Linked DNA regions of Homo sapiens: regions 2, 3 and 4 are each linked to region 1. Evidence: promoter capture Hi-C in 16 types of primary human blood cells and fetal thymus (Javierre and others, 2016). All regions are on one chromosome and are shown on one strand. The core of a region is centred on a gene start or on the middle of the fragment in contact, and the rest is flanking DNA. Distances in the headings are between cores, read along the strand shown.

Region 1 (7,709 bases), core at 2,028-4,527:
ATTCCTCTTTTGAAACAAGTATCTTTTAATACCTCCTTAAATATCTTGAAGTGAAGTTCACAGATAATACAACCTGTTTACACATGTATTTTATTTTTAATCAATATGGTATCCTAACCATTCTACAAAAGAAAACTCTAAAGAAAATAATTTATAATAAGGTAATGAGTGTTTCAATATACAAATAACTGGGGAATACTACACTCAAAGGCCTCATGAAATACACAGACATTTGTGACTATATCGATAATCAGTACAAATGCAAAGTGAGAGGCGATGTTCTGCTAATGCATATCATGTTTTGCACTGTTGTTGGTGATATGATTTACCAAATAGTGACCAACTCCTGGTAAAATTTATCATAAAATAAAGTACAATCTTTCTTCAATTGACTCTGGAAAATTCATTGGATATTAAAATGGTATAAGAATGTTTTGTTTTTAGATGTAAAATGGAGCAAGGTTCTACATTCACATAACTTTTTCAACTACACAGATATTTTCTGGGACATGTAGGGCATTTACTCACCTTGGTCCTCAACCATGAAATACCATTGAGTGCCCTCTCATCATAGCACCAACTATCCCCACACTTTTCCAAAATATCCTTGGGTGTGGTGCCACCCCTACAAAAACCCTGATTCTAACTCAGCTCTCTCATTTTACAGTTGAAGGAATCATCCCTTTGGGGAGGGAAGAATTACTCTCTGGAAAACATAGGGATTTAAACATAAAGACTGGACCAGGACCGCAGACTTCTGACTTCTTAGGCTAAATCCCAGTTGTATCCACCATAGCAATTGAAGCCAAGGATTAGAGTCAAGTAGGCTTGGGATCAAATCCTGGCTCTGACCTTGGGAAAACTGCTTCATCTTTTCGAGCCTCTGTTTCATCATTTGCATAAATGAGATTAAAAATAGCATTTACCTTAAAGAATTGTTATGAGGACTAAGAGAGGTTATGACTTTGAATTCTTGGCACATAGTGAACTCTTAATTAATGGTAGCAATTATCACACTGCTATTCCTCCCTTTAAAGCTCATTCATTTAAGTGCCAACAGAAATTGTCATATCCTAGAGAACTTCTATACTGGAACTTTTTCCTCTGTAGAGAAATACTTGTTTATCATTTGTTTCCAATACTTCAAATCATTCCTTTTCAGGTCAAGGCCTCCTTCTAATCTCTCCATTTTCCTCCAAGATGGCCTGGGCCAAATTTAAGGGAAAAATGTCTTGAGCAGAGTAGCTTGGAGCATTCTCATACCTTGACTCTTACTTAAAGAAAGGAAGAAGAAACTTTGGGGCTTTGATTTGGTTTGAAAAGGAGGAAGGGAGGTGATATTGAGCACTTATTTTGAGCACTTATTTTGTACCAAGTGCATAGCAGGTGGTCTATTTTGTTTCATTCTCTCAAGAATAGTCCCTGTGAGGTGGACTGTTTATTATCACCTCCATCTTGCAGATGAGAAAGTGGAGACTCTAAGCTGATAAAACCCTTTCTTGAGGTCATACAGAGCCAAGATTAAAATATTAACAAAAAATAAAATTCTAGAGCCCCTCCAAGCATCTGAATGGACCCCTTCTTGGCCAGGGCACTCCAAAGTTAACCTGAAAAACTGGTTCAGGCCATGACGGGAAGGGGTGTCAGACATGTCTCGTTATACCCTACTCTCTTTAGGAATTCAGGAAACGTGGCCAGCATTTAACATCAACACAGACCTTAAGTCTGATAAGAAACATTTACATTCTATTCTCTCTGAAGCCTGCTACCTGGAGGCTTCATCTGCGTGATAAAACCTTGGTTTCCACAACTTCTTATTGTAACCGAGACATTTCTTTCTAGAGATAGTAACTCTTTCAACCAATTGACAAATCAGACAAATTTTAAATCTACCTACAACTGGAAGCAGACCTCCCCACTTTCCCTTTTCTGGACTGAAACAATGTATGTCTTAAATGTATTTAATTGAAGTCTCACGTCTCCCTAAAATGTATACATCTAGGTGACGCCCCAATCACCTTGGGGTCATGTTCTCAGGATCTCCTGAAGGTTATGTCATGGGCCATTAGTGACTCATATTTGGCTCAGAATAAATCTCTTTAAATATTTTAGAGTCTGACTCTTTTTGTCAACAAAAATCACATCTCTGTCTGACATTGTCGTGATTTGGGTTCTTTCAAAAGCAGATCCTGAGACAAGGGTTTGAGTGCAAGTGGGACTTTGGAGGTGTATTTATCTTTTTAAAAAATTTTTTTTTGTGCCTCTCAGCTCTGAATGGACCCTTTATTAATTTATGCTCTGGGACTAACGAAGGCGTGCCTTTGAGCCCGTCTCCTTTAAGTGCGCGCGATGCTAGGCTTCCTCAGTAGAGGGCGCCGGAGGACACCGCAGCTGGAGGAGGGTTTCCGCCGGTTGTGCGGGGACCGCGGCTCAGTAGTGTGGGTGGACGAGGACAGCGGGTGGAACTGGTCCTTCTGTGACTTTGCAGCCCCGGCTTGGTGATAATTTTTGTGCAGGCTTCTTGACATGGAAAGCAGAGCTCCCCAGCACAGAGTGAGCCTCCGAAGGGCTCCTGCCCTTACCGGTGCCCTACCCTCCCTTTCCCTGCTTGCTACACTTGGGTCCGGGACTCAGCCTCCCTTTGCAAGCTTCTGCTCGGCCTGTGTGCAGCTGCACTTAGCTGGCAGGGTCAGGCGTTGAGTAGCCGCTCCGCTCCTTCTGCAGCCTCCTGCAGCCCCCGCCAGCTCCCGGGCTCCATCCCTCACCATCAGTTGCTGATTGGCGCCCCCTGCGTGCACAACGGAGGCTGGCTGCACCTGGAGGTTCCCAGCAATTCCAGGCCGGCTCCAGCCTAGCCAAAGCAGCTAACTTCTCTGCTGTCTCGTGGGCTGAACCTCACCGTTTCCCAAGAGGTCTGAATCCTTCTCAAGTTCGTCTTTTCCTAAGTTCTCCCTCGTAGCTCTAGGTTGCTTTGTAGAGTTTCCTTATATCTATACTCTTCATTGTAGTTAATGACTCTGTGTTACACTTGTCCTGTTGAACTTACTGTGTAGTTTCTGTCTCTTGACTGGATCAAGGCTCTCACAGGAGTCAATCCCAGAAAAATGATGAGACAGTAGGGAAGAGAGAAAAGCCAATAAACAGCATGTTAATGAGTAGGTCCCACCTGGGGCTCAGTCGCACTGGTGTCCCTCTGAGAGTATGGGCACCACACACTTTGGCATTGCCCCAGCAAGGCAAGGGGCAAGCAAGGGAGCTGGGTGTTTATCTCCCAGGCATTGCTTGAGGCTTGCTCTTGGGAATGGTAGCTCCCTGGAACTTCTGTCCAGCCTGCATATCTGGACTGTGCAGGGGATACTTCTATGGCCAGAAAAAGCCCTTGGGCAGAGAGAAGCAGGTTCTTGATGCTGAGATGTCTGCGTGCTTGGGAGTTGACCACTGCAGCTGCAGGTGACCTCTGGGGTGGGCCAAGGGGATGTAGGTGGGCAGTGATACATCTGCTACAGACATGTTGCAGGATGCAGGGCAGCAGAAGGAAACTGATCAGCTGGCTGCCAATGAATGGCCCAGACTGATTCAAGGGTAAATTTGCTGGAAGAAGTCCGTTGCAGAAGATCAGATGCTTTCCTGACTGGTGTAATTTAATTGTATGGTCAGTGTTTGCTATGGATAATTGGATTTTTCTTTGACCTTCACAATCTTGCTGGCTCTCTGTCCACACTGAAAGACACTTTTCTAACTCTCTCAAATGCAATAAGACTAACCTTGGCTTCCATCAGGAACTCATGGGCTTGCCATTTCCAGGAGGTGCCGATGGCTGTGGTATCCAACCAGCAAACGGCAGTGGTGTTTGTATTTTCCATTTTGCCCTTTACAAGAACATTTCAGCTGAAGCAAAAGGCTTTTTCCTTTACCCTGGGTTTTTTAATAGAAATCTTGGTGGCATTAAGCACTTTTAATTCTGAGCACTAGCCTGTAAAGTTCAAAGCTCTGTTCTGCTCTTGAACACAGCGGATACCAAGGCGAGAGATTCTAATCACAAGGAATACCAGAAAAAAAAAAATAAGCAGGAGACAAGTTTATTACGAAGGGTTGTGAACAGTATTTGTGATTAATGTGGAATGAAAAAGGTTATTTCTACATTAAAATCATTCACATTTGCAATAATTTAAACAATTTATCTGGTTTCCCCAAGTGGGGATGTGTTCTTTCCACATATAACATGCTCAGTGAAGGAAGAACAAGGAAGGTTACGCTGCCCTGAAACATATCTGGGAGAGCTTTTCGGCTCTGGGAGGATCACCAAGTTATGTTGTTAAGTGACAAAAACAATATCCGGAAGAGTGTCAAACAGCTAATTATTGTGTAAGAAGGAAAAAAAGAAGACTACATTAGTCACATTTACTTATATTTATATGAAAAGCTAATAAAAGTAGCTAGGTATACGTAAGGCAGTCAGAAACAAGACTTTTCAATTATAACTTTTATATCATTTTAATTTAAAAGTTACGCTAATATATTTCCTGTTCAAGAAACAAATAACAACATGCCCAGTGGAAAGCATCATCATTGTAATAATGTCCTAAGATCATTTTTTATGACCTTTGAAGGTAACTTAGGATAGGAAAATGCATTCCATAAAATTCAGCTGCCTGCACATAGTGAATCCTTTGCAAACCCTCGGAATAGGCTGAGGGTTTTTATATGACCATGGAATTTTTTTTTTTTTTTTTGCATCTTTGCTGCTATTCGCCATCCAGGCAGCAGGGGGAGGTGTTTCTCTGTTTTTCTTTGCGCCGCCCACGCCTTCTCCCCAACTTCATATGCAAAACTGACCAAGAATTCTCTAATTCAAATCTATGCACGAAAGGCACCACATTTTCTAGATTCATGTTGTTACTCTCTCATATCCCAAATCTGGGAGACTTGGAGCTTCCAGCAGGCTGCTAATGATTTTTCAAAAGGGGCCGATTGTTGGATTTGCTGGTGTAAAGTTTGTCCTCCCTCTTCTCTGTGCCCCTCCTTGTCACTCCACTCAGCCTTTATACATCACTTGCCATAATCGAGTCATAGAAAACGAAACTTACATTATGGAAATTCACAGCCTTTTTTTTTTTTCCACTTTGTAGATGAGACTCAGGATTTAGAAGGCAAAACAAACAAACAACCAAACAAATAAAAAAGGGATTTATTTTGGACCTTCATAAATGGTGCCAAAGTAAAAACAAACAAACAAAAGGTAAAAGAGGAAGGGACTGTTAGATGAATGTTTATCTCGGCGCCTGGTACCATACCTGCCTTACACACTCACAACGCAAGGAAGGGTGTGTCACCAGAGCCATTTTGCTAAGGAGGAGATTAAAGCTCAGAGGGGCTGAGCAACTTGCCCAAATTTATGTTGCTAGAAAATGATAGAACTGGAATTGGAAGCCAGACTGTATCTAAAGTAGAAACGTTTAAATATTTTCTTCCTATACCACACAAAATAAGCAGAAGGCAGTGTCTCTCTCTCTTTTGTCCCTGTCTGCCCCCCACAGTCTCTGTACCTGTTTTCCCACAAGGGTGTACCACCTGCTCCCTACTCCACATCGCGTCTATAAAGAGAGAGAAGGAAAAAAGGAAGTCGCTTCAAGAGCTCCCCAAATGCTCAATGGAAGTTGCTCTTTGTTGTACATGGGCAGCGATTTCTTTAGAAAAAGTAGTGACGTAGACCTGCCCGAGGTCAGCGATTCCTAGAGCAGTGGACTTGGGGAAGTGCCAGGGAAGCATTATGTTGTTTAAAAAATTGTTTTGGAGCATGTGCTTGTGCGTGTGTGTGTTTCTGAGCATATCTGTTTTCTCACAGGAGCTGCCTGGCAATGGTAGCAGGTGAAGGTCATGGTGAAGAAGATGCAGATATTGGCAATTTGGAGCATTAGATGAACTAATTACAACGTTAACCTAAGGAACAGTGGTGAGACCATTTTATCCAAAGTGAAGTTCTTGAGAGAGATCTTGGGTGGCACCTAGCCTCTGTATTAGATAAAATGGACATCCCTTGGGAGAGAATGTGGCTCTTTTCTATTCTGATTAGGGCAAAAAGAGTCTCCTTTGATGCCAACATGACCTTAGTGCCTTTAAACATATACTATGCTGCCATTTCCACAGAGAGGGACAAGCAGCAGCTTGGGGTCCTTGGGCAGGCAGTGGGGCCCAGCCAAAATTTTCTTAGATTGCTTTATTTTCCTTTAATTATGATTACATGTATAGCAAATGATTATGGTTTTCTATTTGTGATAGTGATAAGGGATGCCTTTTAAATATATGTATTTAAGTAAAAAGGTTAATTTACCCAGCACTTTGGGAGGCCGAGGTGGGCAGATCACGAGGTCAGGAGATCGAGACCATCCTGGCTAACACGGTGAAACCCCATCTCTACTAAAAATAGAAAAAATTAGCCAGGCGTGGTGGCGAGCACTTGTAGTCCCAGATACTTGGGAGGCTGAGGCAGGAGAATGGCGTGAACCCAGGAGGCAGAGCTTGCAGTGAGCTGAGATCATGCCACTGCACTCCAGCCTGGGCGGCAGAGCGAGACTCTGTCTAAAAAAAAAAAAAAGTCAATTTAAAGAAAAACCAGTTAAGTGAATGATAGTAATGTGGAGATGTGAAAAAAAGGATGAAAGTGTCACTAAAATAATTCAAATATGTGGGCTGGGTGCAGCAGTTCACACCTGTAGGCCCAGCCCTTTGGGAGGCCGAGGTGGGTGAATCACTTGAGCCCAGAAGTTCGAGACCAGCCTGGGCAACAAAGTGAGACCTTCTCTGTACAAAAAAAATGAACAAAATTAGCCTAGTGTAGTGGTGAGCACATGTAGTCCCAGGTACTTGGGAGGCTGAGATGGGAAGAGCATTTGAGCCCAGGAGGTTGAGGCTTCAGTGAGCCAAGATTGTGTCACTGCACTCCAGCCTGGGAGACAGAGTGAGACGCTGTCTCAAAAAATAAGGAAGAATTGAAATATGGGGATATTATTTCATTAGTGGATTAGTTTTCAGCATGTCTTCCATTTCAGACATTTTATAATTCTAATTCCATCATTTGAGAATGATGGGAAGATTAGAATCATACAATATTAGAAAAGAAAGGGATAACTGAGTCTGCCCTCCTCATTTTACAGCTGATGAAATGGAAGCTTAGAAAGATGTGACTGGTTCAAGGTCACACAGTGTTCTGTTGGCTCACATCCCATTTGTGTGTGTGCATGGGTGTGTGCACACAGGTGTATGTGTGCATGTGTGTTGATGGGAATGGGGTAAGGGAGAGAGGAGGAAAGCAGCCTAAATATCGAGCCGCCTGGGCTTTAATGTAATTCAGGTTGTCTTGGCACCACGGAGGGAAAGCGGGAAGACAGAGGGGACATTCTTTGAACAAAATGAGAACTCCTAGATAACACGGGGGTGGGGGAATATCCTGAAAATCTAAGTTTCCTGTGCGTGCTACAGCAACAAGGGTAAGAGCTAGCTGATTTCCCCCAGTAAACACAGCAGTGGCTTTTTGCTGCAGAATGTGGCGTTAAATTCAATAGGTCAGCATTAAGCTTGAACAAAATGTGATGACTGATTAGGAAATGAATGGTAAGTCATGGACAGCAGATCCTGATTATGATGATGCTTATCAACACCTCCCTTCCCCACACTGGAACAAACAAAGCTGCACAATGTCCTTGCAGGCT
Region 2 (7,709 bases), core at 2,011-4,510, 1.5 Mb after region 1:
AGGCTGCTTGTAGGCCAGCGGTTGAAGACAGCGGGCACCCATATAGGCCCTTTCCTATGGGACACAGGACTCCTCAGGTGAGTGACTTAAGTTCAAGAGTCTGATCAGCCTGGTCAGAACTTTCTTAGGACTGCAATGCAATCCATGACTCTTCCAGCCCAATCCTCCTGCCTTCCCACCTCCTCACAAGGGCCAGATCAGCATCACCGTCTGAAGACTCCCTGCCTACCCCTCACCCTCCCGTTTACCCAATACACGTATTCCCCCAATGGGTTCCTTACACATTTGATGTTCTTTGGCATTTCTTCTCAGAAGACCCAAACTAATACAACATGCCATCCCAAAAGCACAGTGAGGGAGTGGGGAAAAGAGGCAGGGAAGAAGAGAGAGGCCACAGAGAATGTTGACAAGGCTACCTCTGTGGGCAACTCGAGGTTCAGACCTCCCCAGAACCTTCTGAGAAACTGCATGGAACTCGCCTCAGAATTCTACCCCTAAGCAGCAAGAAACCTGGAGTGTTTATTCACAACTCCTGTCCCTCCATGAGTGAGGGTCACTCCCGGGCATTAACTGGCTTGCACTCCCTGGCTTGCTACATCACCTTGTCAGGGGTGACCCTGGTACTGGGCCAGGAAGTCTGACTCCAGAGCCTAAATTCTTAACCACTAAGCCATGCCCTTCAAATTTATTACATTTGAAAGTTTGAATTTAAAACTAACATAGCATCTATCAGCTACTTTTTTTTTGTCCCCAATTAAGGAAAATTTGGCAATAAACATCTTTCTTACTAAAATATTTTATACAGCTGGGCGCGGTGGCTCACGCCTGTAATCCCAGCACTTTGGGAGGCCGAGGCGGGAGGATCACCTGAGGTTGGAAGTTCGAGACCAGCCTGACCAACATGGAGAAATCCTGTCTCTACTAAAAATACAAAATTAGCCGGGCATAGTGGCGCATGCCTATAATCCCAGCTACTTGGGAGGCTGAGGCAGGAGAATTGCTTGAATCCAGGAGGCGGAGGTTGCGGTGAGCAGAGATCGCGCCATTGCACTCCAGCCTGGGCAACAAGAGCGAAACTCCATCTCGAAAAAAAATTGCTAAAATATTTTATACTAGTAAAGTTGTCAATCTATCCAGCTAGCTGATAGAAGACCATGGCCTCTTACTCACTGTGTGACCTTGGGTAGATGACTTAACCTCTCTGTGCCTTAATTTCTTTATGGATCAAAAGCAGGTAACAGTCTGTCTTGCTGACTTTACAGGATTATTTTGAAGACCTTCAGAGTGCACGCTTATGAAACAGCTTTGTAATAAACTGTTAAGTGCCTTCCAAGTGGAATGGATTATCCTTCTTAGATAAGCTTGAACTTTCTCCTTCCCTGCTCTGCTCTACTTCGGAAACAAACGCATACACTGGCCACTCTGGCCTTCTCCTATCCCTGACCCCACAATGTTATAGGAGTTCTCCTCTGGTTCCTCCTCTGGTTCCAAAACCAGTTTCACAATCTCAACAGCACAAAATGTTTCATTCTATTCCAGTATAGCTTAGATAATATAGATAAGAATCTGTAATTCATCCTTCCTTGATCAATGTTCTTGACTGTTTCATGCTTGCCTGAACACGGTCCATTCAGTTGTAAAGCCAGAGGCTTAAGAACAATGAATGGTTTCAGAACTTTCTCATGTCAGTTAGGCAGCTTTTTCTTAATTCTCTCTTCCTAAGGAGGTTTCTAAAATCTTATTGGGTCATTCACCTCTTTGAGACTCTTATGAAAGGCAAGGCTCCTCTCCTTGGGAAAAATAAAAAATAAAAACATAAGCCTGTATACACACAGAGACCCACAGCCCCCAAGCCCTCACCACTCCCCAGCATACATATAAATTAAGTACAATTTTGTAGGTACTCACAGCCCTCCGAAACCTATAACTGAAGCTCCTTGGTAAAACATTTGCTCTCTGATGTCAGCTAGATCTAGTTTTACATACTGGTTGTATGTAAAATAGCTACCAATAATGCTGGCACACAGTAAGTATTCAATAAATAAGAGCTGTTTTTATCATTAATGTAACATTACCTTCTCCGGAAACATTACACAGTCCTGGGAAACGTTCAAAAAAAAGGGCTGGGCAGTTTCAAACAGATGGGACCATTTTCTAAAGAGAAGAGGTTTGCTTTAAACCTGGAAAGAGGCTAGTGTGTTGGTTCTCCCTCTGCTGGCCTGAGGTTAACATACATTCTTTGTTTTGATTGTGGTGAGTGTCCATGTACCCTGGGGAGAAGAAAATGGGGCCAGAGGTGGGAGATGGGCAGCTGGGGAGGTCATGGTTAGTTCTAAGCCATCGCGCATACTGGGAAAGCTAAGGACAGGGAGGATGTCTAACCCTTTGTTTATTATTCCCCAAATACTGTATTTGCTGAGCAAATGAGTATCTGTTATTAGGAGGCTTCATGACAATGAGATGAATGAATGAGATCCAGCCCTACTCACAAACCCTGGCCTCATCATCAAAAAGTTTGCCTTCACTTCCAGACTTGGAGTTATAGTTGAAATATGGGGACTCTGGATAATGGTTAAGAACAAGAGCTTTGGCCTCTGGGCTCCAGCTCTGCCCTTATTAATGGAGGGAATGATTTACTGGAACTTGAGCTCCCTGAGTCTCAGTTTACTCACCTGTAAAATAGGCGTAATAATAGTCCCCACCTTATGAGTATTAAATAGTATATCAGGTGCTTAGTGGAGAGTCTAGCAATAAAACAAACTTAATAAGTGGCAGATATTAGCATTATTTTGATTCTAACATAGGAATAGTATTTTAAAAGCCTTTAGTACATTTAAAATTCACAATAATCCTTGCTTGTTGTATGAGGTCAAAACACTTGAACTTGCTAATATTCAGCCACTTACAAAACCAGCAAATTTTCATATGGTTTAATGTAATAGAAGAATTGGAAAATTCATAATAAAAATAGAAATTATGCATAGTACCGCCATCCAGAGCTACACATTTGGGTGTAAGCTTCTGATATCTTGTCTATCTGTAAATAAGTCATGCTAATATGAAGTAGGAGTGCAATCCTGATCAGATCAGGTTTTCTAAAAATCCAGTCGGACTGCCAGGTGATCAAGGAGCAGTCAAAATGTCCCCCAGAAGATGCCAGGGTAATGGGCAGAGCCTGCGGACAGGAGAAGGGCATTGTTAACATCCACCGTGCTCGAGGGAGACCCTGGGTGTTCTGTTCAGTGTCTATACAACCCTTCCTGTAGCAGCACCCTCTGCCTGTTAAGGGCAGACTGCTGCCTCAGCAGATACACTTGGCCCTGGCAGCGAGGGATACAGCCTTGACAGGCGATTTCATCGGCTCCTTAGAGATGAGATAAATTGTAGCTTTGACTTTATAATTTCCCAACCACTTTGGGTAATCAGGGTTTCTGCTAGAGCACAATGACTTATTAGAGTAAAACCGTGGTAGGGTTAAATCCACCATCTCTCTTTATTGTCCCAAGCTTTTTGCCAACATAAATAACTCCTAGCTATTTTTGGAATGGAGATGTAGCTATCAAGCTGTGCACGGCCTAGCAAGGCTTCGTGATGCATATGAAAGCTTTCTAAATGTCCTGCTGCTCCTGTTAAGAGGGTAGAGGAGGCTGGGCCCAGAAGGGCCTGCTCTTTTCGTCTTCTGGTCCTGGAGTTGTTGAAACTCTTATTGATGCAGACACAGATTATCAATTGTCCTGTCACTCCCCATGGAGACTCTTTTCCCATTACTCCAAGTTAATGAAATAGTGAATGTGCCTGTGCAAAGAACGATGGGCTAGGAGATGAGAGCCCATGATTTAATCTCAACTTTGCTACCAGCTCTGTGACCAGGAGCAAGTTACCCATCCTCTCTGGCTTGTAGTTTCCTAAAAGAAAAACCCAGGGAACTGAGAGAGATGATCTCTAAGCTTTTTTCTAGTACAGTTTTCAAGCTCTCTGTATACCTAATGGAAATCCTTTCTCTCCTCTTTCAGTGAGTCTATGAACTAGGAAGTAATGAGGATCTAAGAGTCCAAGGGTCCAAGAGAAAATTAGAAGTTGTGGGAGATTATTTTGTTTATCAAGAACACTAATGAGAGAAGGAAAAGGCCCGTAAGATGGCAATGCATATATCTGACAATGGGCATATTCCCAACATATATAAAGAACTCCTACATATCAATGAGCAAAAAGGCAGACAACGCAACAGAAAAAGGGCAAAATAGTTTAATTAAAAAGGATACACAAACAGTGGATAAAGTTTAGAAAGATACTCATTAGTTATCAAGGAATACAAATTAAAACTACAAAGAGATGCCCCTCCACATACACCAGAATGGCTAGTGATGAAGCCAAGCACTAATGAGGATGCAGAGCACCAGGGACCTGCTTATACCTCAGGTGGGATAAAAAAAAATGGTACAACCATTTTGGAAAATGGTGTAATATTATCTATGAAAGCTGAACATATTTATAATTTATGACCCAGTAGTTTTACTCATTAGGTATATACTCAACAGAAATGCATATACTCATCTCTTAAAAGACTTGTACAAGAAAGCAGCATTATTTGTAAGCAGCTAAAAACTGGAAACCACCCAAATTTCCATCAACAGAAGGACAAATAAATAAATGGGTATATTTGCACAATGAATTCTAAACAGCAATGTGAGTAGACTACCACCAAGCACAACTTGAATGAATTTCAAAATATAATTTTCAGCAGAATAAACCAGACATAAAAGGGCATATTACATAATTTCATTTAAAGGAAAAACTCACCTCTGCTATTACATGTCAGGGCAGTAGTTTTCTTGGGGTTATGTAGTGACTGAAAGGGAATAGAAAGGGGCTCCTGAGATGCTAGCAATGTTCCATTTCCTGAGCCAGGTCTTAGTTATGGAGATGTGCTTACTTTGTAAAAATTCATTGAGCTGTATATTTATGATATATATAATTTTGGGAGCATATTTTATACAACAATAAAAATGTTTTTACTTGAAAAAATAGAAAAATATGAATTCTGTGATATTTTTGGTATTGTTTTCTTAACGCCACCCCAGAGGCTTTTTTTAAACCATTCTAACGTCCGTTGATCTTTTTTTTTTCCAAGCTTGCTCTGTATCACATAACCCAGAATTTGATAACCGGCTATCTTTTTATGGTTCTCTGATTGTTTCATTTGCTAAAATCTTACCCTGTCAACTGCATTGTGAGTTCTAGAGCCTGGTAGCTATGCCTTTTACTACTGGACTCCGGAAAGCAAAAAATGTAAAACCTTCCTATTTGTCCCTCTGGTTTCCATTATTTAGTGCACCCATATTCCCATGTGCTATTACACAGCCCTCAGTCCTGGCTTTTTCTATACTTGTGCCATGGATTTATAAACCTGCCAGTTTTTTCTATCCCTAAACTTCCCACTTATAACATCTGCAGAATAACCTGCCTTTTTTCTCTTGATAACTGTAGCTTTATGGTTTAGTTCTGTAAACTTAGCAGCTGACCAAGCTAAATACTATGCTATGCTGCAGGGAGGTATAGGTAATAACAGCAAGTCCCTGGTCCCAGGAGTTCCTTGGATGGCCAGGAAAGACAGCCTCCTCAATGCAAAATGTCTCATCAATGCATTAAGTAGATAGAAAGAAAGAGAACAATTACCCAACCCAGTCATGGGTGGCTCAGAGAAGGCTTCCAGATGAAGGAGTCACCTTAGAATCACCTAAAGGACGAATAGGGCTGGGTGCAGTGGCTCACGCCTGTAATCCCAGCACTTTGGGAGCCGAGGCGGGTGGGTCACCTGAAGTCAGGACTTCAAGACCAGCCTGGCCAACATGGTGAAACCCCATCTGTAATAAAAATACAAAAATTAGTTGGGTGTGGTGGCGGATGCCTGTAATCCCAGCTACTTGGGGGGCTAAGGCGGGAGAATTGTACCCGGGAGGCAGAGGTTGCAGTGAGCCAAGATCACACCATTGCACTCCAGCTTGGGCGACAAGGGCAAAACTCCACCTTAAAAAACAAAAAAAAAAAACAAAAAAAAAAAACACAGAATTTGGCCAAGTGAAGAGAGTGGAAAATCTGTTCAGGTAGATGAGACAGCAAGTGTAAAATCACAGAATCATGAAACAGCAGAGTGTCTGTGTGTACCAGTGTATGTGTGTCTGTATCCATATTTGTGTAAGGCAGGGTTATTATAACCAGTTGGGTATCTCTGGCTTCTAGATAGAGAGGCTGGGAAGGCATAAAGTGGGCAAGGACAGTATGTGGAGATATAGAAGTAGATGGGGGGCCAGGTATTGAGGAGCCCTGAATCCTAAGCTGATGAGCTTGGGTCTTATGATATGGAACAGGGGTAGGCAAACTAGAATGGCAGCCAAATCCAGCGACCTGTTTTGTAAATGAAGGTTTATTGGAACACAGCCACACCCATTCATTTAGGGATTATTTGACTGCTACACAGCAACTGCAGAGTTGAGCAGTTGCTCCTGAGACCGTGTGGCCCAAACTTTGACAACTCCTTGTTTTGGTTTGAATCTGTGTCCCCACCCAAATCTCATGTTGGACTGTAATCCCCAGTGTTGGAGGTGGGGCCTTGTGGGAGGTGACTGGATATGGTGGTAGCTTTTTCATGAATGGCTTAGTACCATCCCCTTGATACTGTCCTTGCAATAGTGAATGAGTTCTTGTGAGATCTGATCTTTTAAAAGTGTGTGGCATCTCCTCCCTTCTTCTCTTGCTCCTGATCTTGTCACATGGGGTGCCCGCTCCCCCTTCACCTTCTGCCATGATTTTAAGTTTCCTGGGGCCTTCCCAGAAGCAGAGTAGATGCCAGCACCATGCTTCCTGTACAGCCTGCAGAACTGTGAGTCAATTAAGCCTCTTTTCTTTAAAAATTACCCAGTCTCAGGTATTTATTTATAGCAGTAGGAAAACAGCCTAACATACCCTTGATCTGGAAGATAATGAGCCACGGAGAGGCTCTAAGTAAAGGGCAGAGATGACTAGGTGTATGTGAGAGGAAAGTCACCCAACATAGTCTCAGTGCATTCTGTGGAATGGAGATGGCTTATTTTGCTTAAGTAATAAAGAAGCATTATGGGGGCCTACTTGAGTCAAGTACTGTGTTTTCTGAGCACAGGACTATACTGAGTCCTTCTCCATACCTGCAAGGAACCACAAACATAATGTACATGTCCATGGATATAATCAGACCCCAGGAGAGGGAACAGGAAGTGAACTGAGGTGGGCACAGCTCTACCAACCTTGGGCTTTGTTCTTCAACACTGAGATTTTGGTTTAGAGAGCTAAAGTGACACTCCCCTTTCCCATTTTTTGAGTTTAGAAATCAAGTAGTAGAAAACCTTAGGAATCAAGTAAATAGAAATGAAAATATTTCTTATTAAAACTTCACCCCTGAAGTAAACAAATGTACCACCCCACAGACATTGGCAGGGCTGAATGACCTCAGGTTCTATGAAGACTTGTTCCTGAATGTTCACTTCAGCAAATATGCAGTGACGGAGGAGACGAATGAGCCTAGTAAACACACTTATCAGACAAGTCATTACTCCTTCCCTGGAGAGGGAACAAGGTGAGAGCCAAGAGTGTCACTCAGTGGAGCTCTCTCCACATGGAAGCATGAAGGCATGAAGGTGGGGAAAGGAGCTCCCTCCTCAACACTGTGAGTTTAT
Region 3 (7,709 bases), core at 1,749-4,248, 1.4 Mb after region 1:
AACTGTCTTTTGTGTCTCAGGATCTTCATTTTGTTATCTGGAAACTTGCCCACAGAAAATTATCTGTAGGTAATTTTGTATTTACTTAAAGTTGTGGTACAGAGCGTTGGAAGAACATATACCATGATCCATATTTAACTGTAATTTGCTTTTGGACAAAAGATGGGTCTAGCCATGGAGTGTGAGAGGTCACACAGCTTTCATATGGAATTTTAGATCACTGGAAGATAACTTTGAGCATTAAATCATTTAATAAGGAGAGTAAGGCCCTCAAGAATGAAGTGGTTTGTCCATGGCTCTGTAATTATGCTTTGGACCTCTGTGGAAGAGGAAAGAGTAATAATATACTCATGATTATGTTAGCATTTAAAAGTGTTTAAAAATTGGTGCTGTAGATCAGGAGTTTCTCTTTTAATTGTCTTACAAAAAGCAGGTTCAATTTTAAGAGAACCATATTTATTTGTAGTAACTGTATGGTTCATACTTCTTTAGCTACATCTTAACACCAAAGTATTAAAGTATAAACTTACTGACAGTAGAATTACCAGCAATGAATACTTCTTAAAAAAAAAAAAAACCCAAAACTACAATTATTAGCGTTTTGATGGATTTACCATTCTTTGATGATTTGACTTGTCTTGCCACAGGTTTGAGATTAGGATGTAATTTACTTTTGAAAATGAATCAACTTGATGGAGACTTGTATCAAGATCTCTAGTGGAATAATCAAAGCATATAGTTAATTAGCAGTATACCTCAGTGGATCCACCTATGGGCAACATCAGATAATTGCTTCACAGTTTATGGATAATTAAGTGAAATAAAAACAATTAAGACAAACTATGCTAAAACTGGAATAAAATGCCTTAACAGTTAAATAAACAATGCAGAAAAATGACATAGTTTCTATACTGTCCTTATTTCAAAAGGCGATTTTAATTTGTACAAGAGTAATTCCCACTTTTGTAGTAGTGCAACTTGTTTTGGAAACATAAAGTCTATATATTTCACTTGTATGAGTAGGATATTTTAATTAACAAAGACCATATTTTTAGTTGTGTGCCTAGCATAATTAATATGGTTGCTTTAAGATCACCATGTATGTTATATCTTTAAGAATCTTCAGAGTTAATTTCAATTTTTTTCTTCATATTTATCATGTATACAGTTATCTCTGAAGGATAAAAAGGAACTGCATGGTTCTATTTTAGTAACTGTCATAAAATATCATGATATTTATAGTATACAAGAAGATGAAAACTTGACCAGCATCAAATATGATTTCACATAGAAAGATCTCAAGACTGTTACTTTTATAACCTAGAAAAGATGTATTCTTTTGCCTTTATATATTTCATTCATATAAATTCTTAGGTCTGAAATTTGAATTTGAATTTGAATTGTAAATTCTTTAAATGCCGCAATTTAAATAGCTATGTTTTCCCTAGCCTCTTCTGAAACAGTCTCCCTGGAGCAACCATCAGAGCAGTGGCTGGGGCACTGGAAGTATGTCCTGGGGAGCAATGCATGGCAGAGATCATCGTAGAACCGGAAACATGGGAATCCCAGGAACTATGAATCAGATATCTCCATTGAAGAAACCGTTTTCTGGTAATGTCATAGCACCACCGAAATTTACTCGCTCAACTCCATCACTGACTCCAAAATCTTGGATTGAAGATAATGTGTTCAGAACAGACAACAATAGTAATACACTCTTACCCTTACAGGTAAGAATGGTATGTAAATGACCTTATCTCTAATGTTAATCTTTCAAAATAGGGAGTTGGGTGGTGGTGGTAGTGGTATGCTAAAATTAACATTTTTTGAAATAAAGTTTTAATTTTTAAGCATGTAATTTAATTAACAAAGGTTAAAATATCTATACAGAGAAAATTGAGAATGTAAAATAATTCTCTAAACACGCAATGGAAAATAAGCTTAGTAAAACGTAGAAAAACCTTTTGTATTTATTAAATACATACTGAAGCTTTCAATTAGCAGCTCTTTAAGAATGCTTTAATTTATAAATTCTAATGGGCCACCAAAATTTGTTTCTCCTTTAATATAGCTAAGCTAATATGTTCTGTAATTGTAACTGTTCTTAGAATTGACTATAATTGGCTGTATATATATTAGAATATACTTAGTACAGCTGTGATTGTGGCAAAATAATATTAGGGCTTTTTTGCATCTAATTTAAATTTATCTTCACTAATTCACCGATTATTTTTTCTAAATGTGGCCTAATACGTTGATTAGACTTTTTTTTTCTTTCAGTATTTTTATTATTTTCTTGAAGTTCCCTTATGGCTATTGCAAGTGAGGTTTTTGTTTTGTTTTGTTTTTTTCTTAAACCTTTAGAGGATGGAATGAGGATTTAAGATAGAGCTTTATTTTTTGTTTTCTTTCTTTCTTTCGTTGGGTGGGTATGGGGAAGACAACTGCTCATTTCTGATGAAAACTTCTATGCTATTGAAGGTGAGATCTAGTTTGCAGTTGCCAGCTTGGGGCTCAGATTCACTCCAAGATAGTTGGTGCACTGCAGCCGGAACATCCAGAATAGACCAGGTAGGCTGCACAGTGTATACTTTTTAGGATTTCGGTTAGGAGTTTAGTATTTATATTATGAGTAGGATTTATTATTTACTTTCTTATTATACCTATTGAAACATATGTTAGAGGACACTGAAGCAATTTATTTTTTAAGGATCACCTGCTTTGAACTATTTAATGTAAGAAATTTTTTATTTTCAAATTTAAGAGTAATCCTTTTATAATTCTAAAACATAATAAACTTTTTTTGGAAAAAGGAATTATATACACAAGAGCACCTGACTTTAAACATCAGTCAAACTAAGCAGATTGTATCTCTTTTCAGAATTAAATGCAATTAGGTACAAAATCATATGTTTACTTAACATCTAGCTTTATATTTGATGTTTCATAGAACTTTTCAGTAAATTTTTGTCATGAAGTCTGTATTTGTTTTGAGATATATTTCTAAAAAAGACTTCTCTTGGTTCAGTTTTTTCACCTTTATTAAAAAATATATAGCCTAGTATTCTAAATTTTGTTACTGCTTTTATACCCTGACTTATTCCAAATAATCAGTTTCCTATGGAGAAACCGTTAGTCAAAAAGCTGGGAGTTAGCCTTAATCAAATTACATTTACACCTTTGGTGGTTACAAAATGCTATCTTTCTTCCTGCAAACTGAATTTGAATGTATACTAGGTACCAGGTGGTGAGGATTATTATAGGTTATAGAAAACTCAGTCCTTATATATGCAGGTTCTTTCTTACAGAGCTCAAGTTTGAATGAGCATAGACTTAACGTTGTGTGTGTTATATGAATGGAGCTATGTTATTCTAAGTCTCTTCCTTGGTTAATTTATCAACATGAGATGATTTTACAAGTAAGGACATAAACAGATTAATAATACGTTTGTAAGTAACATTCTAATCTAGAAGGTTAGCATTAATTTTGATAATCAACCACTAACAATTGTTTTAGCCAAGTCCTGCCTGTTTTCCAAAGTAGTCCTGCCAGGGTCTTCACCTAGAAATGGTAGTTACTTCATGCAATTTGCAACGTATTGTCTTGTTAATATAAGTTAGCTATTTACCTCTACTCTCTTCTCTAGTCTGGTCCAGTTAAGCCTTATTAGTGACGTTTTTATGGTAGCATTTTTGTATTTAAATTCAATACATGAATGCCTAGGAGATGGTATGTTTAGGAGAAGAAAATTAATGTAATTATTTTGAAGGTGGCAAGAGAAATGTTTTCAAATAGAAGAGGACATAATTACTCTGTGCAGAAAGAAGCAATAGGATGGATACATATATAGGATACATATATAGGAGAAATAAGTATCCATGGAAAAGAATACAAATTAGCTGGCATACATGGTCCATGAGGCAGGGACAGATGTTGAGAAATCAGATTATTGAGTTGATTTCAGTTGGAGGGATGCTAGAGAGGAGATAGGGGTGATAATGAAAGGGAAGCTTTCACACCAGCCTCCGGGGCTGCCCTCCCACTTAGACTTCAATCAAAGCTATTCTGCTTTTACCTGTATTATAACCTAAGATTTTAGGGAAATTTATTTTAGGAAAAATGATTTTGGTGCTTAAAGATAAACTTATCTGGTAAACTGCTGAGATATTGGCATTCCCTTTGGACTTTTGAGCCAGAGGTGTGATGTGATGAAGTAAAACACAGTGGTGGGGGAAAAAAGAGATAATGGAAAGTGAATGGAACTGGAAGGAAAGAAGGCCTGAAACTTGGATCTTCTTCCTCTTCCTCATAATCTTTATGACATTGAATGACATAGTTTATAGGTTTTCATCTCTTTGGGTCACAGTTTCCTTATCTGTAAAAGGGGGACCTTGAACTGGGTCATTTAAGGCCTTTCCAGCCAGCTTTTAACACTTTCTCTGATCTGTTTTGGCCATTTCTTTTCCTCCATGCTGCCCCACCCCCCTTGCCTCTATTTTTAGAATACAAGCCTCTTGGTTTCTTTGAGCAAAGGGTCTTAGGCATTAGTCTAAGGCAGTGGAGGTAGTATGTGACCTTTCAACTGGACTTAAAAGCAGTGTCATTGTCTCCTCTAAGTACCCTAAGAGTACTTACACATAGTTTGTTGTGTGTTTCCATCTTTCCATAAAAGGTTGAAGTATTTGAAGTTGAGCCTCTTAAAAATACAGCAGCAGCTACAAAATGAAATTGATATCTTAAAATGTTGGGTAGTTTCTCATTCTTTGGCAAAATTAAAATTATAGAAGATTCTTAGTCACTTAAATGTCTGAGGAGATTATCTGCATTTCTGACCTTTTATCATCATATACAGTGTAATTCTAGTATATTTTTGTTAACAAGTACATTATTTTACAACATTTTACTTTTTATTTCCTTTAGTCTCAAACTGATTGGGGCCTAGAATATAATACAAAATTCTAGAACTGAAGTCTTAATTCTTATACTTGGATACCGCGGGCTTTACCTGTGTCAAGAGCTGAACACGTAATCGAATTCAATAAATAAGAAAGAGCTAGTTTTGTAGGTTGATTTTTATTTCTGTTAATATGTAAAATTTTGTGGGTTGGAATTTTATTTTAAATAAGATTTTTTAAAAATAGAAAACCCTCAAATTTAAAACTTTCTAAAAGCAAATATAAATTATTATAAACATTTCTGACTTTAAAATGAGTATTACATACATATCTCTATGAATTTCTTTTCTTTTTTTTTTTTTTTTTTTGAGACAGTTTCACTCTGTCACTCAGGCTGAAGTGCAGTGGCACGATCTCGTCTCACTGCAACCTCTGCCTCCCGGGTTCAAGCGATTCTCATGCCTCAGCCTCCCCAGTAGCTGTGATTACATGCATGCACCACCATACCCGCCTAATTTTTATATTATTAGCAGAGACAGGGTTTCACCATGTTGGCCAGGCTGGTCTCAAACTCCTGATCTCATGTAATCCGCCCGCCTCGGCCTCCAGAGTGCTGGGATTACAGGCTTGAGCCATCATGCCTGGCCAGTATATCTACATGAATTTGCTTAGGGTTATTAATTACTGTACTTTAAAATGTCATTAGCTAGTTACCCTTGCGAGAATCGTACTCAAAAGTTTGAATTCTAAATTATATTACAATGGAATTTGCAGCCAGATCCAGCAATGTGCACTACTTGGAAGGCTGAGGCAGGAGGATTGAATGCCTGAGCCCCAGAGTTGAGTCCAGCCTCGGCAACATAACAAGACACCACCCCCTCTTCCCAAAAAAATAGGAGTTTTCAGTTTAATGTTAAGGTTACGCTATATTTATTCATATGTTTTAAATCAAAGAGTAAATATCCTTTAAGTGAGGTTATTATTACTTACAAGTTTACATATGACATATCAGCTCACTGTAAACAAAGTAATGTCTTGGAACAGTAATTGAGTGTGTGAAGCATGTACGTGCATGTCCGCCTGCCTTCCACCTGGGGAATTATCAATATATCAACTCTCAATTTTTGCTCTTCCACAAGCTCTACTTGCAGTGCTTGAGCATGTCACATAATAAACTACCTTGAATTAATTGAAGATACTTTCCATTAATCTTTAATAGGCTGTTATGATAATGTGGTAAATCATAATTTGGAGATCTGTCTCAGAAAAAATATTATTTGAATCTTTACTCACCTTACACACAAAAAAACAGTATATAGTTGCATACCAAACCCAATTTGTTTATCTGATAAAGCATTTCTTAAATAGTGGTTTGTAAACCAGATGAACTTCAGGGACATTCATAGTCATCAAACTGTTACATGCCCACTGAAAATGGAAAAGAATGGACTCTTGTATTACAGCTTAAGTAATGGATGCCTTCTTTTTGTTTCCTATTCTGTGTTCAGTGCTTTAATTGTTCTTGAAATGTTTTCCACTTGTCTATTTTAATTCTTGTGAGTACTAGAATAGCTTTGGCCTTTTAAAACATTTGTTTATTTTTTTTCTGAGAATGGCTAACACACTTTATTGAGGTTCGAAATTAATAAAGAAAATAAAAGAAATGTATCTTCATTCATTCTGTATGTTAGTGTTTTAATTACCCTTAGAATATATGGATAAAAAATACTATTCTTTGTCTTGGAGAAGGTAAGAGTCTAGTTAGATGAATAAGGGTTATCTATGTAGAACAACTAGAGAATGAGAAGAGAGCTTATGAGATTGAGTACTACGTTATGCAGTAGAGTAGCACGTCATCTGCTACTGAGTATGGTGTGATAACATTGTGTAACAGGAAAGTATGATCAATATCTACTTAAAATTAAGGACAATATTAGCACTACATTGCTTTATTTTAAAGTAAAAATTAGAGAACTAAACACAAGCATTGTAAGTACAATAAAAGCTGATCTTTCTAGTTAAGCAGAATAATACATGTTCAAGCATCTGCTAAATCATTAAATATAAGAATATAGGGGTTTTCTATAATCTTATTTTTCTTTGGAAGAGTACCTCATTTTCAAGAGGAGAAGTTTCTAATTGACCACTTCTTTAAAAATAAAACAGGGTTTTTAATGTATCCCAGCAAAAAAAATTAATATCTCTTCAAAAAGTTCTCTTGTGATTAAGTTTGAATTCCCTTTGTCATACTGCTTCTAATATTGTACACTGACCTCCTTAGTTATTTTTCAGTGTTTATAATCTTTTCTTAGGTTATCTTTTTTCAAGATTTGGATTACTTTGTTCTTTTCTGTGTTTTTCAGCCTTTCTAAGCTTTTATTGATACTCCTGTAAGTGTTTGTGGCAAATGTCTGGGTTTAAGAAAAACCATGAAATAAATATTATAATAAAAGAGGTTATGCCTTTTCCAACAATGTTTTCTAATCATTTTATTCTGTTAGTTATTGTGAGATTCTGTAATCTGTTTCTGAAAGCCCATTTAGTTGATTGTTTGCCAGATAGTTTTTATATTTTAGAATAGATTGCATGCACACTTTTCCTCATAGAGTCTTATATTTCTGAAGTATTTTGGTGCTTTCAAATAACCTTATAGTAATAAATGTAAATTACATTGCTATGATTTTCCATATTTATTAATGATAATTAGTATTGTTGCGTTCATGGTAACTTGAAAATTGCCTTAGTTCTTCTATTTAGTTTTCAAACTGATGGCAGTTTGCATGAACACAATTTTTCCTAATGTCTGTATTTCA
Region 4 (7,709 bases), core at 3,681-6,180, 1.1 Mb after region 1:
AACAGTATGGAGGTTCCTCAAAAAATTAAAAATAGAACTACCATATGATCCAGAAATTCCACTTCTGGGTATTTATCCAAAATAAGTGAAATCAGGATCTCTAAGAGATACTAGCATTCCCATTTGTTGAAGCACTATTTATAACAGCCAAGATGTGAAAGCAACATAAATGTTCATTGACAGGTGAATGGATAAAGAAAATGTGGCATATACATACAGTAGAATATTATTTAGCCTTTAAAAAGAAAAAAATTCTGCCATATGTGACAACATGGATGAACCTTTAAAACATTGCACTGAAAGCAATATAAGCCAGTTTCAGAAAGACAAATACCACATGATTCCACTTACGTGAGGTATCTAAAATACCTACAATAGTATCTAAAATAGTCAAATTCATAGAATCAAAGAGGGTAATGGTGGTTGGTGGATGCCAGGGCCTGGGGGGGGAGGGAGAAATGGGGAGTTAGTAGTCAATGGGTTCAAAGTTTCAGTCAAGCAAGTTGAATAAGTTCTAGAGATCTAGAGATTGTTGTACCTATAGTCAGCAATCCTATACACATCAATATTGTACACTTGAATTTTTAAAAAATGTTTAGGAGGGTAGATCATGTGGGAAGCATTCTTACCACAATATGATTAATAAAGTAAAAAATAAGAATTCACCAAACAAATATGAATTATGAGAATTATCTTGGAAAGAACATGCATATAAATGTAGACTCATAAGTGGGTCTTATTTTTCCCTGAGCATCCTACTCTCTCCTCTTGGGCCCATAGTCATATGTGGAATATTCCCAATCCCTACTTTCTCCACCATGAGCAGCCGAGACCACCTGAGAGATGCATATAAAGTGCTGGATCATCACCTGGGAAGTTGTGAGAACTCAGTTAATGGCAGTTCCCTTTCTTCCTATTTGGTTTATATTGTGAAGAATACTTGAGACCATGGTCACAAAAATTATTCATAGCATCAAGGCATCTTCCGGCATGACTCAGTGTTTTCTGAAGACATACGAGACTTCCTATGCTTGATTTCGCATAATTGAACAGACTATCCCCACTTTATTTAGTAGATAAAAGACCTTGTCTCATGCTTCATCTTTTACTCTTCCCTGAGGTGTAGTCATTTGCCTGCTTAATAGCAGTAGTCATTGGTTCATAGCGTGGAGCTAATTTACAAGGACCCCAAGCCCTGGGAATCTCTTCTCTCTCTTCCCTTCCACACCTGCACCAGTGACAGAGTGACCTAAATAAAGGAGTCTGGACTGTAGCATCCAACTTTGCCAGGGTGGGCTAACTCAAGGCCTAGACAGGGAGCTGGAGTTAGCAAGCCCATTTTCAATCTCAGTCTATAAGATGTATGTCTACATAGACTTTATCAATAATAAATCTAACATTTTCTTCTCTATTTGCTAATTCTCTTGCCTATTTCTCAATTGTTTCAAAACTCTGGTAGAAAAGAGAGGGCTGCAAGTTACAGACCCTATCACATACCCTGACGCTGCCCCCACCCCTCATTTCCCTGGCACATAGTAAAAAGCAATTTCAGGAGTGAATAATATTATTTAATATATATTATCTAATAGATATCTAATATATAATATTATCTAATAGATATCTAATATATATTATTATCTAATAGATATCTAATATATAATATTATCTAATAGATATCTAATATATAATATTATCTAATAGATATCTAATATATAATATTATCTAATAGATATCTAATATATAATATTATCTAATAGATATCTAATATATAATATTATCTAATAGATATCTAATATATAATATTATCTAATAGATATCTAATATATAATATTATCTAATAGATATCTAATATATATTATCTAATAGATATCTAATATATAAAGTTTATCATGTGCTAGGCACTGATCTAAGCATTTCACATGTTTTGCTTCACTCCCATGCTGAAATCCAGGCATTTAGAACACCCACTCACCTGAACCAGCAACCTGAGGTGCCCTACCCTTCATAGACATAGATTATGATGCAGCAGGACCCTCCCTACTCTACGCCCAGGGAAATATCCAGGCATTCAGAGCACCCACTCACCTGGATCAGCAGACTGACCTGCCCAACCCTTCCCATGCAGAAATTCTAGTACAGGGAGGCTTCCTCTGCTTCACACCCAAGTAGATCTCCAGGCATTCGGAGCACCGGCTTGCCTGGATCAGCAGCCTGAGCCACCCCACCTTACCGAGACATAGATTGTGGTGTAACAAGGTCCTCCCTGCTCCACACCCAGGCAGATCTCCACACCCAGGCAGATCTCCAGCTGATTCAGTGCACCAGCTCACCTGAATCAGCAGCCTGAACTGCTCCACCCTTAATGGACATAGATCACAATGCAGCAGGGTCTTCTTTGCTCCCTACCCAGGCAGATCTCCAGGCATTCAAAGCACCTTCTCACCTGGATCAGCCACCTGAGTGGCCCTACCACTTCTGTGTAGAGATCTTAGTATAGGGGAGCCCTCCTTCACCTATGCCCAGGCAGATCTCTAGGCATTGAGAGGACCCATTTTCCTGGATTAGGAGTTTAGACTGTCCCCTAGTGCCATGTGGAGAACTTGGGGCCAAGAAGGTTTCCTAGATCATTGCCTAGGCACACCTCTGGATATTTGATGGCCACCCACTGGATTCTCCCTCAGCACTAGTGCTTGTGCCTGCAATCAGAGGACCCATAAGAGTACATGCTCAGTCTGGCCCTGCTCAACATGGTCACTATCCCCTTGGGGCTGAGCAGGAAGCTCAGACCACTATGCATTTCACCAGTCAGCCCATTGACTGAAGCAACAGGGAGCTTCTGCCAGCAAACAAGGATCAAGTATATACCCAGCCATGTTGGCCACAGCCAGCTCTTACCTATAAGCACCCTCTACTGGTTGGGATGTCAAACTGCACAGCCCAGTACAAAACCTGCAGAAAGAAGTGCATAGGGCCATAGGAGCAAAGCCAAAAGATCCTACCCTGCATTGTTTACAACTGCATCCCCTAAGGAGTGAGGGGAAGGAAGGGGGAAAAATATATTATAGAGAAAGCAAGAAAAAGGAAATATCCTACCCACAAAAAAAAATTACAAAAATTAAAAGTGCCAGCATCTCCAGATGGGAAGGAACCAGTACAAAAATTCTGGTGCCATGAAAATTCTGAATGTAATTACCCCACCAAAGGATTACATTAGGTCTCCAGCAATGGCCCCTAATGAAAATGGGAACTCAGAATTTACAGATAAATAATTCAAAACATGGATTGCAAGGAAGCTCAACAAGATCCACGCCAAGGTTGAAAATTGACGCAAAGAAACTTCTAAAGCAATCGAGGAAATGAAGAAAGAGAGACATATTTAAAAGAAATCAATCAGAGCTTCTGGAATTGAAAAACTCACTTAAGGAATTTCAAAATACAATTGAAAGCTTTATCAGTAGACTTGATCAAGTAGAAGAGAGAATTTCAGAGCTTGAAGACTGGTCTTTCCAAGTAATCCAATCAGACAAAAATAAAAAAGAATTTTAAAAAATTAAAAAAGTCTTCAAGAAATATGGTATTATGTAAAGTAACCAAACCTATGAGTCATTAGCATTTCTGAGAGAAGGATAAAAAGCAAATGACCTGGAAAACGTATTACAGAGAAAAATTGAAGAAAATTTTCCTAATTTTACTAGACAGGTAGACATCCAGATACAAGAAATCCAGAGAATACTATGAGATACTGTACAAAATGAACAGGAGGGCATAGAGATACCAGATTGTCCAAGGTCAATGCAAAAGAAACCTTAAAGAGAAAGGCCTAGAGAAAAAGGTCAGATCATGTGCACAGGGAATCCCATCAGGCTAACAGCAGAAACCTTATAAGCCTGAAGAGATTGGGGGTCTAAACTTAGCATTTTTCAAGAAAAGAAATTTCAACTGACAATTTTATATCCCTCCCTAAGTTTCATAAGCAAAGGAGACATAAAATCTTTTCCAGATAAGCAAGTTTTAAGGGAATTCATTACCACTACACGAGCATTACAAGAGATTCTTCAGAGCATTCTAAACATGGAAACAAAGAACAATAACAGCTACCACAAAAATGCACCTAAGTACATAGTCAATAGACCCTATAAAACAACCACACAATACAAACTACAAAGCAACAAGCCAATAACTTCGTGGTAGCCCCAAAACATCATATATCAATATTAACCTTGAATGATAATAGGTCTAACAATCCAAATTAAAAGTCACAGAACGCCAATTTGTATTTTTTTTTAAAAAAAAAGAGGATCCCTTCATCTTCTGACTTCAAGAAATCCATCGCACACATAATGACACCCATAGACTCAAAATAAAGAGTTGGATAAAGATCTATTATGAAAATGGAAAACAAAAAGGCAGGGGTCACTATTCTTATATCAGAAAAAAATAGACTTTAACTAACAACAGTAAAAAAGGACAAAGAAGGGCATTACACAATGATAAAGGGCTCACTTCAACAAGAAGACTTAACTTTCCTAAATATATACACACCCAACGTTGGAGCACCCAGATTCATAAAACAACTACTTTAGAAATATGAAAAGACTTAATAACATTATAATAGTGAGGAAAGCCCTATTCAACACCCCTCTTACAGCATTAGAGAGATCACTGAGGCAGAAAATTTACAAAGAAATTCTGGACTTAAGTTTGATACTTCACCATTTGGACCTAATGGGCATCTACAGAATACGCCATCCATCAACCACAGAATATACATTCTTCTCATTTGCACACAGAACGTACTTCAAGACTGACCAGATGCTCACCATAAGGCAAGTCTCGATACATTAAAAAAGCAAAACAATACCAACCATACTCTCAGATCACAGTAGAATAAAACTAAAAATCAATAACAAGAAGATCTCTCTAAACCACATAATTACATGGAAATTAAACAACTTGCTCCTGGATAACTTTTGGGTAAAGAATGAAATTAAGTCAGAAATCAAAAACTTATGTGAAATAAATGAAAACAGAAACCCAACATACCAAAATCTTTAGGATGCAGCAAAAACAGTGTTAAGAGAAAAGTTTATAGTGCTAAGCACCTACCTCAAAAAGTTAGAAAGATCTCAAATTAATAATCTGAGAGCAAACCTAGAGGAACTAGAAAAGCAAGAACAAACTAACCCCAAAGCTAGCAGAAGAAAATAACTAAAATCAGGTCAGAACTGAACAAAACTTATGTCCCAGAATCTTCACAAAGACTCCATGAAATCAAAAGGTATTTTTGAAAGGATAAACAAGATCAATAGACCACTAGCTACATTAACAAGAGAAAAAGAGAGAAGATGCAAATATCCACAATTAGAAATAACAAAGGTGACATAATATCTCACAGAAATACAGAAGATCCTCAGAGGCTATTATAAATACCTCTATACACACAAACTACAAATTCTAGAGGAAATGAGTAAGTTACTGGAAACACACAGTCTCACCAGGTTGAATCAGGAAAAACTGAAACCATGAACAGACTAATATTGAGTTCTGAAATTGAATCAGCAACAAAATCCTACCAACCAAAAAAAGCCATAGACTGGATGGATTCACAGCTGAATTCTACCAGACATACAAAGAAGAGCTGGTACCAATTCTACAAAAACTATTCCAAAACATCAATCAAAGAGGAGGGACTCATTCCCAACATATTCTATGAAGCCACAATTATCTTGATACCAAAAGCTGGTGAAGACATGAAAAAAAGAGAAAATTACAGGCCAATATGCCTGACAAATATAGATGCAAAAATTCTCAACAAAATACTAGGAAATCAAATCTAACAGCACATTACAAAGTTAATTCATCATGATCACCTAGGCTTAATTCCTGGGATGTAACGTTGGTTCAACATATGCAAATTAATAAATGTCATTCACCGCATAAACAGAATTAAAAACAAAAACCATATGGTCATCTCAATAAATGTGAAAAAGTCTTCATTAAATTCTAACATCCTTTCATAATAAAAACCCTCAAGAACTTAAGCACTGAAAGAGCATGCTTGAAAATAATGAAAGCCATCTATGACAAACCCATGGGCAACATCATACTAAGTGGGCAAAAACTGGAAGCATTTCCCTTGAGAACTGAAACAAGAATGTCCACTCTTACCACTCCTGTTCAACATAATACTAGAAGTGCTAGCCAGAGCAATCAGGCAAGAGAGAGAAATAAAAGGCATCCAAATAAGAAAAGAAGTCAAACTATCACTCTTCACAGATGATAAGTATTTTAGAGACCTAAAAACCCCTAAAGATTCTGCCAAAAGGCTGGGGAACTGATAAACAACTTTAGTAACATCTTAAGATACAAAATCAGAGTACAAAAAACAGTAGCATTTTGTTGCACCAATAACATTCAAGCTTAGAGCCAAATCAAGAATGCCATCTCATTCATAATAGCCACAAAAACATAAAATAAAATACCTAAGAATAAATCTAACCAAGAAGGCGAAAGACTTCAAGGAGAAGTACAAAACACTGCTAAAAGAAATCATAGATTACACAAACAAATGGAAAAAACATTCCATGCTCATGGACTGGAAGAATCAATAACGTTAAAATGTCCACAACATCCAAAGAAATCTATAGATTCACTGCTATTTATATCAAACTACCAACTCATTTTTCATGGAACTAAAAAAAACTGTTCTAAAATTCATATGGAACCACAAAAGCCCAAATAGCCAAAGCATTCCTAATGAAAAAGAACAAAGCCAGAGGTATCACATTACCTGACTTAAAACTATACTAAGGCTACAGTAACTAAAAACAGCATGGTGCTTGTACAAAACAGACACATAAATAAATGCAATAGAATATAGAATCCAGAAATAAAGCTGTACACCTACAGCCATCTGATCTTCAACAAAGCCAACAAGAATAAGAAACAGGAAAAGTAATTTTCTATGCAATAAATGGTGCCGGGATAGCTGGCTAACCATATGTAGGAGACTGAAACTGGACCCCTACTGTATTAATCCATTCTCACACTGCTATAAAGAACTACCTGAGGACAAAAAAGTATTGGATGTGGCGGATGGGAGGCAAGAATAGATTGCAGCTCCAACTCAGATGGACAGAGAAGTGTGTGGAGGCTTGCATCATGAATTTTAGATCCAGAACAAATGCAGGAATAAATCAGGAAACATGAGAGGACCCAAAGACCCTCTGAAGGATGCAGACTGCTCCTGCACAATCTGGGAGACACACCAAATATTGTAAGTGTGCAAACTGTGGAAGTGGGAAAAAGAGGTTGTCCACCCCTGAACACACACCTCCACTGGGGAAACTGAAGGTCTAGTTTACAGGAGAAGATTCTGACCTTACCTGGAGCTGAGTCAATTTAGACAGCCAAGCGAAATACAGGGGTAGAAGAAGCAGTGGGAAAGGTCTGGTGAGCTCACTGCATCCCCAAGCAGGCCACTGCTGCCTGGAATCACAGGGAACCTTCAGGAGGGTGGCCAGAGATGTGGGGAAAACACCACAGGGAGAAGGAAATCTCTAGCTGAACTTTGTAACAATTCAAACTGCTTGAGAAGGCTCCTAGCCACAACTTGGGGGAGGGCATGAATCCAGCATCCAGACTTTGCAGGTAGGGGAAGAACTAAAGCCCTACTTTCTGTTGCAGCTAGGAGGCAGGTATCCTGGGGC

Evidence for each region. The method cuts DNA at HindIII sites, captures the fragments that hold promoters and counts their contacts. A CHiCAGO score of 5 or more calls a contact.
Region 2: a contact is called between a fragment that was not itself captured here and the fragment with the promoter of LINC01182 in region 1, in 1 of 17 cell types (total B cells). The highest score is 5.5, in total B cells.
Region 3: a fragment that was not itself captured here is called in contact with the fragment with the promoter of LINC01182 in region 1 in 1 of 17 cell types (naive B cells); the score reaches 5.4 in naive B cells.
Region 4: a contact is called between a fragment that was not itself captured here and the fragment with the promoter of LINC01182 in region 1, in 3 of 17 cell types (monocytes, M2 macrophages and total B cells). The highest score is 10.8, in monocytes.

Annotation. Positions count from the first base shown.
Region 1 is chr4:13,651,902-13,659,610 of GRCh38, forward strand. LINC01182 (long intergenic non-protein coding RNA 1182) reads left to right here and starts at 3,278. Exons shown (of 4, transcript NR_121681.1): 1 at 3,278-3,450; 2 at 5,846-5,953. RefSeq lists an enhancer at 2,803-2,852. The HindIII fragment of the contact is 4,521 bases long and covers 2,647-7,167 here.
Region 2 is chr4:15,194,971-15,202,679 of GRCh38, forward strand. The region is part of intron 2 of C1QTNF7-AS1 (C1QTNF7 antisense RNA 1); the gene reads right to left. Among named protein-coding and RNA genes, the nearest start is that of CPEB2, 200 kb to the left of the region's middle. The HindIII fragment of the contact is 488 bases long and covers 3,017-3,504 here.
Region 3 is chr4:15,005,857-15,013,565 of GRCh38, forward strand. It overlaps CPEB2 (cytoplasmic polyadenylation element binding protein 2), which reads left to right. Exons shown (of 12, transcript NM_001177382.2): 2 at 1,449-1,730; 3 at 2,482-2,571. It overlaps C1QTNF7-AS1 (C1QTNF7 antisense RNA 1), which reads right to left. Exons shown (of 6, transcript NR_125911.1): 4 at 4,637-4,716; 5 at 615-714. Among named protein-coding and RNA genes, the nearest start is that of CPEB2, 7.2 kb to the left of the region's middle. The HindIII fragment of the contact is 2,021 bases long and covers 1,989-4,009 here.
Region 4 is chr4:14,785,203-14,792,911 of GRCh38, forward strand. The region is part of intron 2 of LINC00504 (long intergenic non-protein coding RNA 504); the gene reads right to left. Among named protein-coding and RNA genes, the nearest start is that of LINC00504, 99 kb to the right of the region's middle. The HindIII fragment of the contact is 2,973 bases long and covers 3,445-6,417 here.